3 separate regions of the Homo sapiens genome follow, and regions 1 and 2 are each linked to region 3. Evidence: promoter capture Hi-C in human tissues and cell types (Jung and others, 2019). All regions are on one chromosome and are shown on one strand. The core of a region is centred on a gene start or on the middle of the fragment in contact, and the rest is flanking DNA. Distances in the headings are between cores, read along the strand shown. Region 1 overlaps ABTB2 (ankyrin repeat and BTB domain containing 2). Region 2 overlaps TRAF6 (TNF receptor associated factor 6). Region 3 holds the start of SLC1A2 (solute carrier family 1 member 2).

Region 1 (3,221 bases), core at 365-2,864, 1.1 Mb before region 3:
CACAATCAGTGGATCCAACACAAGTTTGTTAAAAACAATTAGAATATCTTATGTGTCAGGCATAACACAAAGTCCCTCACAGGGACTCTTATGAAATTCTCACAACCATCCTATGAGTTGGGTACTATTTTCAGTCCTATCTTATAGAGCTGTGTTTCACAGCCAAGGGTGAATTTGCTCCCCAGGGAACATCTGGAAAAGTCTGGAGACATTTTTGATGGTCTCAACTGGTGGTGGCTATGAAGCATCCTACAATGCCCAAGACAACCTCATGACAAAACATTAACCAGTCCAAAATGTCAATGGTGCCCTGTGATCAAGGAAGAAACTAAGGCACGGAAGTGAAACAACTTGCCCAGGGTCACACAGCTCCCAAGTGAAGTTATGAGGAATTACAGCCAGGCAGCCCCACCCCGTGCTGTGCTCTCACCAGTAAGCCTGGCTGCATCTCTCACATCCCAGGGCACTGAGTATGCATAAGGCACAACCGCATGTGTACAAGCCTCTCATTTTACAGTAGAGGAAATAGAAACATAGTGTGACTTGCTTGAAGGCCTAGGTCAGTAAGAGGCAAATCAATCTGGGACTCAATTCAGACTCCAAAGTCTGGGCCCTTCACTGCTTTGCTACATCGCTGACTCATTCTCTCCCTGTGCTCTAAACACCGAGATGGAGTCAGCAGCCGGACACCATGGGGGACTCGGAGGAAATCAAAGCCCCCTTCATACAGGCTCTTCTGCCAACTCCAGGACAGGTGCACCAAGCTCCCCAAGACCAGTGACCTAGACTCAAATCCCTCTTGGTGCCTTCTCTCCTTCATGTATTAGCCTTTGCTGAGCTGACCCGCCCATCCTTTAGAAGAGCATCGCAGTGTACTCTGCGGCTTCTCTATTCAGCTGAGCTTATTGGTCACCAGCAGGTGACACTTATAAAGGCCCTCCCTGGGCAGCAGAGCTCTCTGTGCCCTCTTCTTCCATCCCCAGGAGCAGCAATAATGGCTCTTTAAAATCAGTGGCACCTCTAGGGTGGGGAGAGCCAGCAAGCAGCATTTAAACAGAGTAACAGCAACCTTTGGAGGAAGATACACCCCTGGGTGTCAGTGCCTGCTCTTTCACTGTGGTCGTGAACACTCACTGGCCTAACAAATGTAAAGTGTCTGGACACCATAGGCCATTAACAAACAAGACCTATAACAAGTGTTGTTCTTGCTATGAGTTTGACCCTAGCTGCCATCTGAATGGGGCCAAGTACTGACCTGTATTTGCTACCTTGGATTCTGTAATTCTTTATAGGAAAAGCACAGGCCTGGGGCTTGAGCAAAATGGGACTTAGTCATTATTGAGCTTAGTTATTATTGAGCTGTGAATTCTGGACTCATGGAGACCTCTCAGTGAAAGGACACACATTCACAGGATTCTCATGGGGACCTAGAAAGCTCACAGATGAGAATAAGCTTGAGGTGTTGTGGAAAAGTCAGACCTATTACTACAGCTGCATAAGAGTAGAAATAGAGGCGAAGCATCTACCCACTGACCTGTCGGACAAAGGATGAATACTGATGGTGAGGTGGGATAAGGACAAAGCTGAGGATGTGCAACCAAGTGTCTCTGGTTTGTTTCAGAACTTCCCATTCTTGGGATGCCAACCCAGGAATGTCTTGGCAATTGATTACCTTGGTTCAGTCCTCAGACTGGAGGCAGATGGAGTGGGACACAGATGTAAACTCTTCTGAGCAATAGTCATCAACATAAATTGTCCTCTGGGGCAGCTCTGTTGGCAAGGGGGCGGTTGGTATTTCCATTCTTAAGGAAACCTTCAACTCAATCCTCCTGTTGACTTTTCTGTGGCCTGCTGTACCAGACGTCTGTTGTGAAGCCCTTCCTCTTGGGTATTGTACACTGAAGACATTCTCCTAAACTGAAAATTCCCCCAACTCACATCTTGCACATCAAAGCCAGACTTGGGAACCCTGCTAGAAAGCAGGGTACCCAAAGGTTGGATGTAGCCCCAAAATGCTGACTCTATTCATTGAGAACAACTTGGAAATTTTCTGCCTTGGTAGAAATGGGGACGGTTCTGATATATCAAAGGAATTCAAATACAAATTTTAAACCTGTATGGCGGGATCTATCATTTGCCCATCATTTATAGAGCACATATTGTAGACACCATGAGAGGTACAGGGAAGACAGCAATGCCTATGAAGTGCACAGTTTTATGGGAGAGACACACACAAGCAGGAAATGATTTAAGAATATGTCCTGGGTGCTGAGGAAACATCACAAAGGGGTGGCTCTTCCAGCTGGGGGAGTCAGGTAGAGCTTTCAGTAGGAGGAAGTGGAACAACTCTACCTTGTTCCTCTTACTACTTAAGGCTAGGGTTGCCTTTCTCAGGCGTGCGAGAAAAAAAAATTTTTCATTTCCAAAGCTTGCTCTGTTTCAGTTTTACCAACTCTCTTGGCTTTAATAAAATGGTTAAAGAGATAGGAAGCAGCCCTCATCCTTCAGACTACCCAGGTGTGGAAACTGATTAAACACCACCTGACAAGCTCAATCAACCCTTGCTGCTTCAGTTGCTTCTCTCAGTAGAAATTCATCCTACAATCTCATCACTAAATAAATCCCACAACCAGAAGAGGTTTCGTCCCTGCTCTACATGCAGCCCTTTTCTTTCTCAGCTCTAAGTGAGATGTTGAGACTTCTCTCAGCTGGTGAATAACTGAATCATTCAGAAAAGTCCTCAGTCACTATTTTTGGCCTAAAGGTCCTTAGTAGTATTGATATTACTGGCTATTACTAATAAACCTTCAGAGAAGCATTCCTTGACTGTCATTTAAATTAGCCCCGTCACACCATCCCATTACCCTGCCCTTTAAAAAAAATATTTTAAACAACACTCATTACCAAGAGAAAATCCTTGCTTATTTACTTTTTCTCATTTCCTCCACTGGATTATAAACTTCATGAGAGGAGGGCTTTTCCCCTTGTTCATCACTTAGTCCACAGCACTTTTAACAGTGGTGGGTACAGGGTCAGTGCTCAATAATTGTTGAATGAATTTACTATTTATTGAGCATTTACTATGTGCTAAGATCTTTCAATCTATAGTCTCATTTAATTCTCATACCACCCATATAAGCTAGGTGCTCTTACTATGTCCCATTTTGCAGATGACAAAATTGAAGGTTAGAATGGTTAAGAAAATTGCACCAGGCCACTCA
Region 2 (3,666 bases), core at 509-3,008, 1.1 Mb after region 3:
AAAACAAACTGTCCTTTTATGGAGAGCTTACAAACTGTTCTTTTATGAAATGAGTACAACTAGCATACTGATAACCTATCAAAAGCTAAGGGATTTTTATATGGTGGGATAGATTCCAGCTTTTTGAGAAAAATTAGCTGAATAAGGTATTTTGATTGGTACAAAATGAAGTGAAAGAATGGGAATTTTGGCAGTCTGGCCTCTGTGTTGTCACACCTATATAATACACTAGAAAGATGGAATATGCTGCTCACAGTACCAATAACATGTCTATAATGCAATTGCTCAGTCATAAGTAAAAATTTAAGCACTTAGCAGTACCTCCGTGAGGTCACATTTTAAAGTTTACTCTGAAATAGTCACTATAACACTCCAGCTAACAGGCAACAAAAGTTTCCTTTATTTGTATGTCTAGGGTCCAATGTTACAGAAAGTTAAAGGACCTCTATGTCCTGCTTCTCAGTGGTTTATTCTTTCTTATGATGGAAAAAACTATCCTCAGAAAAAGAAAATGGGATTGTATTGAGATGCACTTTGATTCCTTGAGTGAACATACTCAATGAGAAATTTCAGAGCAGTTCCTTTAAGAACACTGGGGCTAAGTGTTCATTTTTAAAAAGCTTACAGGGAGACAGAAAAAAAAAAGCCTCAGACTTCTTTTTGTGGGTTGTATTTCCTTTTCAGACCACTGTCCCACTACTTTCATGAACATCTTGCTATTAAAAAGCTGCTGAAGATTAGCTACCTTCCTGGGCATGGCAGTGAGCCGAGATCGCGCCACTGCACTTCAGCCTGGGAGACAGAGCAAGACTCCATCTCAAAAATAAAATAATGTGGAGGTTGAGAAAAATCTACCCAAAATAGATCTTGTTAAGTCAGCGCTGTGTAATACATCTTTCCCCAAAATTGAAACAGCAGACATTATCTTTTGTGATTTAAATTAAGCCAAGTCCCGAGTATGGATGTAGTTACTCTTAAATTCAAGTTTTATAGAAAAGTTAATGTAAAAGTTGGCAGATAAAAACTTTGGAGACTAACAAATTGCCAGGACAGACTTATAATGAATTCACTAATATAACTAGATGGCTATTTATTGAAGAACATAAAATCTGCCCCCCTTCATCCAATTTTTTGTCCTGTATAGGACTCCTTAGTTACCTACAAAATTCCCATGTACTTTTGAATTATAGTAAAATGTATCTATTTCCATGGAAATTGCAAGTACTTTCATTCAGTTAAAGCAACCATGATTTACTGATCATCTACTATGGGTCAGGCACTATTTCCAGAACTTGGGAAAAATCAAGAAATAAAACAGATCTAATACTTTGCTCTCAAGGAGCTTATCATCCAGTGGGGCAGACAATAAACACATAAATTATTTGGTGCTTTAGAAGGCAGAAAGTGCTAAGGGAAAAAAGAAAATTAGGGCCAGGTGGAGAGATTGGGATTGTTCGGCAAGAAAGGTGGAACCACGCTGTGGTATAAATACGGTGGTGAGGGGACCTATGAGAAGGTGAGATTTGAGCCAAAGTGGAAGAGTTAAGGGGTTAGCTGTGGCAAGAGTGTTACAAACAGAAGAGCTAAAGCCACCACTCACCAAGGCAGGAGCATGCCTGACATGTTCAAGGGATAGCAAAGAGGGAATGAATGGGTAGAAGGACAAAGAGTGCAGCAGAAAAGAGGTCAGGAAATGAATCATGGGCCTATCACACAGGGTCTTATAAGGATTTTAGCTTTTACTCCCAGATACCCTGCTACAATGGTCTGAGCAGAGATGACATCATCTTACTTATTTTACTAGGTCCACTCCCGCTGCTGTATTGAGAACAGCCTGGAAGACAAGAATAGAAAGCAGGAGGCCTGTTAGAGAGCTGGTGGTGAGTCACAACAGGGTGGTAGCAGAGGGAGGAAGTGAGAAGGGACTGGATTTTGGATATATTATGAAGGTAGAGCCTTCAGTTAATACTTTCTTTAAAAATACTGGTAATTTTACAGTTGACCATACACTTTAGGTAATAAACAAGATTTAACATGCCTAAAATCACAATAACTGATCACTTACAGAGTCAGTATTCTTTGTGTGGTTGAGATTATCCTTATCTAGTAGCATCATAATTTAAGGTACATTTAAAAAATACTATTTTCTTTAAAGCATAGAGTCACTCCCCAGTCTGCATTAGAATTGCTTTAAGTAAAAGTAGCAAATTATTTACTTATTTATCCAAGGGTCAAGAGAGGAGGAGATTCAAGTCACTTTTCACACAACAGTGGAAACTGGGATAAGAATCTAACTTTCTCAATTTTCTGTCCATTGTTCTTTTTTCCTAAGTAGCTTTTTATGTGTAAGACTACTTTTGGGATGTTCCATGTTCTATGTAACAATGTTCTCTGCATCTGGTTCTGTTATAGGACACCATTTTTTCTTATGCTCACGTACCTTATTGATTTTATGATGCAGGCTTTGCAGAACCTATGGCCGCATGGCGTTTGCACTGCTTCTCGTAATGCCATCAAGCAGATGGGGCATTCATACTTGCTTTCCAGGGGTGGGTCAAACTCTACATCATATCCCTGGATCTCCTCCATAAATGAGCTGGAGAGGTTCCCCGTGCTGGCAGTTCCACCCACACTATCATCTTTTGTTACAGCGCTACAGGAGCTGGCCATGGCCACACAGCAGTCACTTTCAGACTGGCTGGATCCACAGCTGTTTTCACAGTTTAGCAGACTCATAGTAACTTGATTATCACTTGCTCTGTAGAAATAGCAAGAAAAAAATGCCTTTATAAGTAACACACACACTCACACCCCACACATATATATCATAGCTTATCTATACAAGTCACTTTTTAATTCATGTACATCAGCTGTATTAATGTTATTTACAGAAAACTTTTAAAAGTGTTTTGAGCTTTTTCATGACTATTATAAGTTACCTGATTCTCTCCTTCAATAAATATATATATTATTATTTGTGCAAATCACTTGGAGCACACAAAGAAAGCTGGGTCCCTTCAGAAGTTCATGATCTAGTAGAACGACAGCATATAAAGTTAAAAAAGGAGAAGCACCTCAGTTGTAATACTCTTCTATATCACAATTATCTGTTTACATGTTTGTTTCCTGTGATTGAGCTAAATATTTTAATTTCCATTTCCGCAGTACTTAGCACACGATTTTTCATACAGTAAGTGTTCACTAAGCATCGCTAAAGAACTTATCCATGTTGTTGAAGTTCCTTGAAGTATCCTGAGCTGAAGGGAATAGTATGGCTAGCAGCTCAGTGCCAGGAAAAGCAGTACGCAAGGAATCAGGTGATCATGTGCCACTGTTAGATGTGTGATTTAGTGCAAGTTACTTAACCATTTAGATCTTGGTTTTTTCTTCTAGGTCTAAAATTCTATAAGGACTTCCAAATGCTCAGTGTGGAGATTTCTATTAGGTATTAAAAATAGAATTGAAAAAGTGTATTTTTATGTCCTTCTGCCTTCAGTCAGGTCAAGTGACTATGTTTCATTATTAATGACTGGAAAAACAAGTGATGTTTTGTTTGCCTATGGAAAACTATTGGTTTCATGAGCAGATGAGATATCCTCAAATTCTAAACCATTATGGTATTTACAGGCGAGAAGCTAATATTTAAAAGCAATTCACAGCCCATGT
Region 3 (3,380 bases), core at 230-2,729:
CCAAAAAGTTTTCTGGGAGATACTGGTCCAAGGACTCTGTGGACCTTTCCTTTGATGTGTGAGTATTCAAAGAATCCTTTTGCCCCCTGCAGCCCCTTCTGTCTCTTGCTAAAGACAATTGTCTTTAGTTATCACTGCGAGGGAGCTTTCCCCATGCCAGCTGGAATCTTGGGAGGCAGGACACGACTCCAGATCCTCGGGCTGAATAGGGAAGCCAATGCTATCCCTGCCCGCTGGAGTCTGGCGACTCCTGCCCTTGTCCCAAACCACACGTTTTCCCGCCTCCCGGGAAGCACCCAAATCTCTTCCACCCTTCCTTAGAGCTAGCCAGGGAGATTCCGCCTTCCAGGGACAAGGACCGATCGGAGCGGGCCCAGCATCTCCATGGCGACTCTGCAAACCTGGCGTTCAAGGCCGCGCGCGCTGGTCCTTGCCCCGCCCCAGGGCCCTGTCTTGGCTCATTCCTTCCGAGCCGGCACCACCTGCAAGCCCGCCTCGGGCCTGGGGCGCCGCGCTCCAGGCGCTGCTACCCCGGTGTCTGCTCACACTATGCCCAATCCCCTATTGTTTTGAAATCCCAAAAGTAACCTCAAGAGGATTTCTTCCTCACACTCTCAGGCCCCCAGCGCACCTTACCCTTTTTATCAAAATAAAACAACCCTCCACCTCTCGCATTTTCAAAGGATTAAGCAGCAATCTCCAGGAAAGAAAATCAATCCCCTCCCCACCATCCCATCCCCAGCCAAGCTACGGCTCCGCCACCACCTCCGAGGCCCGCCGCCGCCGCCTCTCTATCCGCATCCCGGATAGGGGCGCCACCACCCCGCGCGTGACCCCGCTTTCCCGCGGGTACAGATAAAAATCCCCTCACCCTTCCGTAGATGCCATGGTCTGGGGAACGCCCCCTCCTCTTCAGCACTATCCGGCAGCTGTGGGCGAGGGAGAAAGCGGACGCCGGGGTGAGCGCGAAGTGCGGCCGGGAGCGGTATTTAAGAGGAGCCTCTGCCCGCCCTTCCACCCGCCTCCGGGGTAAGCCCTTTAGCGCCTCAACGGGCGCAGGAGGCTCCTGCGGGCGCTAATCCGCGTCCCGGCTCTCCACGGCGCGCGACCCGCGCTCCCCTCCGCCCGCGGGGATGGCGCTTGGCGGGGAGCTCCGGGGGCTCCGAGGGTGGCTTCCCCGAGAGAGCGATGCGCCCAGGGCTGCAGGAGGGCGCACGCCGGCGATGCGCCCCTGCAGCCGCTGCCACCTGTGCTTTGCTGCGGGGCTCGCGGGCGCGGCGAGTGGCGGGAGCAGAGAGTGGTGGCAGAGGACGGTGAGCGTGCGTGCGCGTGTGCGGGTGTGTGCGCGCCTGGGGAGGCGGTGGAGGCCGCTGCGCTCTGGCTCGGCGCCGGCCAGGGAGGGATTGCAAGGTTTAGCCCCGCCGGAGCTGGGGATTTGCAGGCGATCCCTCTCTATTTTCGTCGAGAGCTGACATCACCCGCGCCGCCGCCTCGGGCAACTCCTTTAACCGCCGCCCCCCGCCCCCATCTCCAGTCGCGGTCCCTCCTCTGCCATCCCTCCCCCCAGCCTCTCGCCATAAATTAGCCAAATAAGAAAAGAGGCCCCGCCGCTCGTCCGGGAAGGCTTGGGCAGCCGGTGGCAGGAGCCCAGGATCTAAGGAGTAGCTATTGTTTCCCCTGAAGCCCGCGTGGCCCCAGGTCACCCCGTGCGGGGTGAAGCGCAGGCGACCGCGCGGAGACCCGGGATGCCCCTCCGTCTCCGCCTCCCTGGAGCAGCCCCTGGCGCTCCCTCCTCACTCCCCGGAGCACCCGCTTCAGCTCACACTCACCCCCAAACTCACAGGCAGGCACACCCACCCCATCCTCCCACGTCTGGGGGTCCCAGGTCCAGCGGAGTCGAGCGGCTGAAACACGCGGGTGGTGCAGCCTAAACGCGGCCCAGCTGCGCTCCCTCCCCCGCCGAAGCTCGAATAAATCTCTGGCCTTCAATTATTCAGCGAGATTAATATTAATGCAGCTCCCTGGGGGCGGCGGGCGGGGTGCAGGGGAGGCCGGGATTTTTTTTTTTTTTTTTTAGGCCGAGAGAGGTCGGCCTCGTGGGTGCCGGCTGAGAAGGCGCGGAGAGTTGGCCGAGGGGTGAGTGGCGGGGGACGGTTCTCCACCCACTCGGCGCTGCTCGCCGCCTGCTTCCGTGTCCCGGGGGCGGCGCACAGAGACAGATGGGCTTGTGCAAGGGAGAGTTCGAGCCTTCCGGACGCCTTTGCATAAAAATGACGAGACCTGTGCAGCTTTGATTATCTCTGGAATACTGCAGGAACCTAGGGTCCCACTACTTGCCGACCCTGTGAGCGCAGAGCAGGCAAAGCCTCACTTTCCTCGTCTAGGCAATGGAACCCAAAAGAACTCACTTGGAGGGCCACAGGAGAATTAAACAGACTCTCTTTTTCCCCGGGGTAGACGATCTTCGGATTTGCGCTGTGCTGGACCTTGTTAGACGATGGAACGCGACCGGCCACGTGCAAACTCTCTGAGTAGGTCCCGGGGATGGTGCCAGAGGAGCCGGAGTCCCAGCAGGACCGATTGGTAGTTAAATGCCAGGCGCTGATATCCGAAGGCTTGAGTTCTTCACCACCTTCTAGCTGAGTAACCTGGGGCAAATTCCTCCATCTCTCTCTTCATCCCACCTGTAAAATGGGACTATCTTCTCCCACTTCTCTGTGCTAAGAGAACTAAATGAAATGGAGAGGATATGTAAAACTCCTAAAGTGGCGTCTGGCACCCAGTAAACCCTCCAAAAATATTCAGTGCATTTTCAGAGTCCTTAGAAGATAGTTTATTGGACAAAATATCCAAGTATGAACAGACAGATGAGAAAAATAACAAGAAAAAGAGGGGAAAACACATTAATAAAATTTAAAAAATAAATCTCTGCTTACCTCCTTCCTTTACTCTCCTTTCCAAAATCTGAATCCAAACGTCATCTTCCATCCATGCCTTTCTCCATCTCTCCCCTCCCCCCTTCTCTCTCAATCCTGTCTGCACCATTAGAATAATCATGTCTGTACCTTATTCATCCTAGGTTCCTTCAGAACCACTCTAACTTTGCATTTTCTTTATTTAAAAAAAAATGCCATAAGCATCTCTTCGTCTTAGGGCATTTGACTTTGGGTACTCTTCTCTTCCGAAAAATTAGTTATTGTTTAACCTGGTAAATGTGTTTAAAAATAATTTGTAGATGAAGAGCTATCTTCTTTCACTTTGGTATTATGTTTGACACTCTCCTCTTAAGCCCCGTCAAGGGTAAGTGTGTGTCTTTGTATCTGAAGTTGTCACATATACAAACTTTACAGTCTAATTGTCTAACTTTACAAGTTAGGGTT

What was found. Contacts are between HindIII fragments. The study calls those that stand out against the background at their distance.
Region 1: a fragment that was not itself captured here is called in contact with the fragment with the promoter of SLC1A2 in region 3 in 1 of the 25 tissues and cell types used here (dorsolateral prefrontal cortex).
Region 2: a fragment that was not itself captured here is called in contact with the fragment with the promoter of SLC1A2 in region 3 in 1 of the 25 tissues and cell types used here (dorsolateral prefrontal cortex).

What each region holds. Positions count from the first base shown.
Region 1 is chr11:34,349,531-34,352,751 of GRCh38, forward strand. The region is part of intron 1 of ABTB2 (ankyrin repeat and BTB domain containing 2); the gene reads right to left. Among named protein-coding and RNA genes, the nearest start is that of ABTB2, 6.9 kb to the right of the region's middle. RefSeq lists an enhancer at 2,616-2,665. The HindIII fragment of the contact is 5,708 bases long and covers 1-3,221 here.
Region 2 is chr11:36,498,780-36,502,445 of GRCh38, forward strand. TRAF6 (TNF receptor associated factor 6) reads right to left here. Exons shown (of 7, transcript NM_004620.4): 2 at 2,441-2,758. The coding sequence starts at 2,736. Among named protein-coding and RNA genes, the nearest start is that of TRAF6, 9.7 kb to the right of the region's middle. RefSeq lists an enhancer at 2,019-3,218. The HindIII fragment of the contact is 4,610 bases long and covers 1-3,666 here.
Region 3 is chr11:35,418,079-35,421,458 of GRCh38, forward strand. SLC1A2 (solute carrier family 1 member 2) reads right to left here and starts at 1,480. Exons shown (of 11, transcript NM_004171.4): 1 at 872-1,480. The coding sequence starts at 888. SLC1A2-AS2 (SLC1A2 antisense RNA 2) reads left to right here and starts at 979. Exons shown (of 2, transcript NR_186310.1): 1 at 979-1,029; 2 at 2,458-2,924. RefSeq lists an enhancer at 1,126-1,626. The HindIII fragment of the contact is 13,805 bases long and covers 1-3,380 here.